2 separate regions of the Homo sapiens genome follow, and region 2 is linked to region 1. The links are contacts of gene promoters, found by promoter capture Hi-C in blood cells and fetal thymus (Javierre and others, 2016). All regions are on one chromosome and are shown on one strand. Each heading gives the region's core, a stretch centred on a gene start or on the middle of the fragment in contact. The rest is flanking DNA. Distances are from core to core; before and after follow the strand shown.

The links. The method cuts DNA at HindIII sites, captures the fragments that hold promoters and counts their contacts. A CHiCAGO score of 5 or more calls a contact.
Region 2: a fragment that was not itself captured here is called in contact with the fragment with the promoter of UBA2 in region 1 in 1 of 17 cell types (fetal thymus); the score reaches 5.3 in fetal thymus.

Annotation. Positions count from the first base shown.
Region 1 is chr19:34,427,001-34,429,713 of GRCh38, forward strand. UBA2 (ubiquitin like modifier activating enzyme 2) reads left to right here and starts at 1,381. Exons shown (of 17, transcript NM_005499.3): 1 at 1,381-1,570. The coding sequence starts at 1,433. LOC124904695 (a long non-coding RNA gene) reads right to left here and starts at 1,364. Exons shown (of 2, transcript XR_007067232.1): 1 at 1,122-1,364. RefSeq lists silencers at 1,269-1,508, 1,539-1,648, 1,719-1,878. The HindIII fragment of the contact is 4,339 bases long and covers 267-2,713 here.
Region 2 is chr19:34,125,170-34,127,882 of GRCh38, forward strand. It overlaps the pseudogene CHCHD2P3. Among named protein-coding and RNA genes, the nearest start is that of LSM14A, 46 kb to the right of the region's middle. RefSeq lists an enhancer at 1,477-1,986. The HindIII fragment of the contact is 8,804 bases long and covers 1-2,713 here.

The sequences.
Region 1 (2,713 bases), core at 131-2,630:
ACTAAATTTATATATATTTTAAATCAATGATAACTGCTACAGGACAGTTTCCTAGAATTGGAATGAATGAGTCAAAAGTTGTGCACAATTTTAGGGTTTTTTTTTCTTTTTTTTCGAGACAGGGTCTTGCTCTGTCTCTCAGGCTGGAGTGCAGTGGTAAGGGCATAGCTCACTGCAGCCTCGACCTCTCAGGCTTAAGTGATCCTCCTGCCTCAGCCTCCTGAGTAGCTGGGACTACAGGTGCAAGCCACCACGCCCTCTAGAGAAGCTTTGCTTTGGAATCTTTACCTGGAGTGTGTTGGAGTGCTTGTTTCCCAATCCCTTGATAAGTGTTACTTATTTTTTCTTTCTACCAGTTTAGTAGGTGAAAAACTTTTTTTTTTTTTTGAGACAGAGTCTCGCTGTATTGCTCAGGCTGGAGTGCAGTGGTGCAACCTCCGCCTCCTGGGTTCAAGCAATTCTCCTGCCTCAGCCTCCTGAGTAGCTGGGGCTACAGGCTTGTGCCACCACCCCCAGCTGTTTCGGTGTTTTTTTTTGTTTGTTTGTTTGTTTGTTTTTTTGAGACGGAGTCTGTTGCCCAGGCTGGAGTGCAGTGGCGCGATCTCGGCTCACTGCAACCTCTGCCTCCTGGGTTCAAACGATTCTCCTGCCTCAGCCTCCCGAGTAGCTGGGATTACAGGCGCACGCCACCACGCCCGGCTAATTTTTGTATTTTTAGTAGAGATGGGGGTTTCACCATGTTAGTCAGGCTGGTTTCAGAACTCCTGACCTCGTGATCCACCCGCCTCGGCCTCCCAAAGTGCTGGGATTACAGGCGTAAGCCACCGCGCCCGGCAGGTGAAAATCTTACCATTTTGCATGGTTTACATTTTTTTCTTTTTTGAGACGGAGTCTTGCTCTGTTACCCAGCCTGGAGTGAAGTGGTGCGATCTTGGTTCACTGCAACCTCCACCTCCAGGGTTCAAGCGATTCTTTTATGGTTTACATTTTAATACGCTTATTGATCATATTGTCCAATTTTTTGTGAGTTTCCTGTTCACATCCTTTGCCTATATTTTTTTGGGGGTGACACTTGTTAATTTGTAAGAGCTCTTTACGTATAGGGACATCAGTTTTCTAACCTGTAAGGAAGTCTTGGCTGGGAGTTGAAACCCCAGGCTAGAAGGCGACCCTTAGACTTTTTAGGTCTGATGGCGGGCCTATGCTGGTGTGGGAATAACACCGCCGGTCTCAGCTGGAGGTCGCCAGCCCTTTGCAAGAGCCTGCCGGTCCCCGCGGGCTGCAGCACACCCCGGCGCGATGTGCCCTGCCTGTGTCTGCCGGAGGCTGTAGTGCGCAGGAGCGGAAACCAGGCCGCCCTTCCCCCACCCGCTTCCGGCCGCGGCTCGGTTCTCCCGCCTCCGCCTCCGCCGCGGCTCGTGGTTGTCCCGCCATGGCACTGTCGCGGGGGCTGCCCCGGGAGCTGGCTGAGGCGGTGGCCGGGGGCCGGGTGCTGGTGGTGGGGGCGGGCGGCATCGGCTGCGAGCTCCTCAAGAATCTCGTGCTCACCGGTTTCTCCCACATCGACCTGGTGAGGGCCGGGCGCGCGCGCGTGAATGGCGGGCTGTGGTGCGGGGGCTGGGATTCGGGGGTTCCGGGGCTCCAGGGGCTCTGAGGCTCAGGGCCCGGAGCCCGGGACCGGAGTTGCGGAGCGGGGGCAGGCTGAGAGGCTCGGGTTGTGCCCCCCCCGCGGGAGGAGACTGTTCTTTGGGCACGGGGCGGGCCTCCGCTCGCTGGGCCGGCTCCGGACGCCGAGGAGGCCGCGGGCCCCCGCCTCCCCGGCAGCGCCAATGTGTGGCGCTTCGTGGGCGTGAAGCCGCCTCTTATCCTCCCTTCAAAACAAATTCCCGGCTGTTAGGAGATGCGGGAGAGGATTGAGTCCCTCGCGGATGTTGTGACTTTAATTTTGAGGTCCCTGTCGTAACTCCGAAGTAACGACGCGGGGCGGAGGATGGCAATGATAGCGACCAACGCGTCCCGAGCGCTGGTCACGAGCGGGTTTACACACGGAACGCGCACCATCTTCATACCACCCGAGGAGTGCAAACGCTATTTCCACCCTGCTTTATTTTTAACAGATGAGGAAAGGGAGACGCAATGGGGTTGAGTAACTTACCCTGGGTCACGGAGCGAGTGGCAGGGCTCCCGCAGGCTGCGTGACTGTCATTGCTCTCACAGTAGACGGTACACTCGCTTGTTTCATTAAAGACGTTAGGACTGTGCCTTTTGCATTGGTGTACGTTGACAAGCCAGTGCTATTTTGAATCGTTATTTCTACTAATGCAAACTTTTTAGAGATTGGAGATGTTACTGGCCCTTCGGTGTGAGTTTAAAGTGTCTTAAGGGCTAGTGGAAACATGGAATGAACAAAAAAGTACGGGTGGCCGACTGAGTCATTGTTTCTTTCCTTTATGTATTATATATTTAAGCAAAAATTAGATAAAACTTAAAACATGATACTTTTTTAACCATGTGTAAAAGTTTCCTTTCACAGTTCTCAGGTTAATAGTAAATGAAATTGTGTATGGATGAAGGCTTGAATTAAGGGAGGCAGCAAAAATTCAATAAACGTTTGCCATGTATCATTTAAGAAAAAGAACAGAACCTGGGCAACATAGAGAAACCCCGTCTCTACAAAAAAAGAAAATTAGCGGGGCGTGGTGGTGTGCGCCTG
Region 2 (2,713 bases), core at 86-2,585, 300 kb before region 1:
CAGATTGATCTGGTGCAATTACACTTTCTTCCCTCAACAATCAATCCAGGGAAACAGCCATTTTAAGAACCTGCTACTCAGTACATATACATCTAATGAAAAGGGTTCTTATGAGCATATGTATTATATTTAAGCTATATATTTAATCTTCACCATGAGAAAACACAAATGATAAACATACCTTATCTCAAGTAATTACACCATATTCCCCACTACCTCTGCTCTCGAATGCACAGTTTAGCAGTTATTTGCGCTAAAATTATCCTTCTACACATCAAATCCACTAAAGGAGCTAGTCTCTTTTAAAGAAATGAACCTAATAATCTGTATGAATAAAACCATGTCCCAAATTCTCTATAAAGTATATTAAGAGCAGAACTATGATTTAATGCCAAGTAAATTTTAAATATTACACCTTAAAATGCATCATGTTCACATAAACAATTATATAACAGACTGGAAATTCAGGAGCTAATAATGCAGTTTTCAGCAACAAAATCAAAGTTCATTTCCTCCACAGCACCCCTGTCTCTACAGCCCACTCATATACTATGTATGAACAGCTTCCATATATATGATGTTTCTCAGTGGGTTTTCTCCAACCTGGGCAGCAGAGCAAAACCCTGTCTCAAAAAAAAAAAAAAAAAGAAAAAGGAAAGAAAGAAAAATGGCCAGGCACAGTGGCTCACACCTGTAATCCCAGCACTTTGGGAGGCTAAGGCTGGTGGATCACCTGAGGTCAGAGTTCAAGACCAGCCTGGCCAATATGGCGAAATGCTGTCTCTACTAAAAATACAAAAATTAGCCAGGTGTGGTGGTGTGCTCCTGTAATCCCAGCTACTCAGGAGGCTGAGGCACGAAAATCACTTGAACCCAGGAAGCAGAGGTTGCGGTGAGCCAAGGTTGCACCAGTGCACTCCAGCCTAAGCAACAAAAGCGAAACTCCATCTCAAGAAAAGAAAAAGAAAAAGAAATGTCATTTTCATTGAGCATTGGATCAATTTAGAAGTTGATATTCATAGAATAATAACCACATCACACTATCTTTCTAAAATTCCAACACAGAATAATAAGACCAATTACTGGGTATGCTCAGCCTGTGGGGGCCAAGAGGGCAGATATTCTCTGCATCTATCCCACTTGGAGAGTCCAGAGAAGCAGAGGATGTTTTCCAGGGAGGCTGCTGAGATGTAGGGCCCACCCAGGAAAGTCTGAGGGCTATCCTGGGAAAAGGATAAGGATAAGGATAACTCATTTTTTCAAAAAAGCAAGTGGGAGAGGCATTAGATTTAAAGTATTTGCCAAATACAAAGCAATTTCAAAGCCTTAAAAAATTCTACAAGATATTCATTCAACAAATATTGATAGGCCAGGTGTGGTGGCTCATGCCTGTAATCCCAGCACTTTGGGAGGCCGAGGCGGGCAGATCACCTGAGGTCAGGAGTTTGAGACCAGCCTGACCAACATGGTGAAACTCATCTCTACTAAAAACACAAAAAAATTATCTGGGCATGGTGGTGCACACCTGTAATCCCAGCTACTTGGGAGGCTGAGACAGAATAATCACTTGAATCCGGGAGGCAGAGGTTGCAGTGAGCTGAGATCGAGCCATTGCACTCCAGCCTGGGCAATAAAAATAAAAATACAGCTAATGGTGTTTCTTTCTCGGTGGCGGAATTCAGGGAGGATTATATATTTTCTAAATTTTATCACTGCAGTTTTCTGCATTGTTTGAGCTCTTTAAAATGAACAAAACGGCTTGTTTTCACACATCCAAATGCCGAGCCGCCAACACACCTAGGATGCCCCATGGAAGCTGAAGCCACACTTCCCACATGGCCCCTCTGGCCAGCCGGGCATCTCAGATGACAGCTGCATACAGGCCAGCACCTGCAGCTCAGCCGCCAACAGTGGCATCCACCTCTGCAGTTGGCTCTCCTGCTGCTGCTCCCCAGCAGCCAGGTCTGAGGGCCCAGATGGCAACCACTGCAGCTGACGTGGCTGTGGGCTCTGCTGTGGGGCACACACTGGGCCACGCCGTCACCGGGGGCTTCAGTGGAGGAAGTAATGCTGAGCCTGTAAGGCCTGACATCACTTACCAGTAGCCTCAGGGAATCCAGTCGGCACAGCAGCAGCGGCCTTGCTTCTATGAGACCAGTTTTTGGAGGATGCACAGAACCAGGGTGACAGAAAGCTCTGTGAGGGTTTCAGTGAGGTGCTGAAACAGTGCAGACCTTCAAACAGATTGGCCTAATCAAGAAGGTCAAATTGGAGTAATGAAAAATCAGCTCTCATAACCAAGTTAATTTAGTATAAAAATATAATTGATAGTGAAGGTATAAAGTGTAACCATCAGTTAAACCTCTCCTTGTCATTCATAGCTTCCTTGCTTCAGAATTGAAATGAAAGAAGGTGCTCTTACTGTGCAGAATTTCATTAAGGTCGTGTAGAATTTGGGGCTGGGCAAATGTTTGTGTAGCCTCCTTAAACTAGCTGTGATTTTATTCTCTGTGAGTTAATTAAAATAAAGTGATTTTCTTCCAAAAATAAAAATGAAAATGAAATGAATGAAATGAAAAATGTAATATCATTGTCATCAAACCAACACTGATTTTTCTTTAAAAAAAAAAAAAAAGATTTAAATTAAATATGCAAAAATGTTCACTGCTGGCTGGGTGAGGTGACTCATGCCAGTAATCCCAGCACTTTGGGT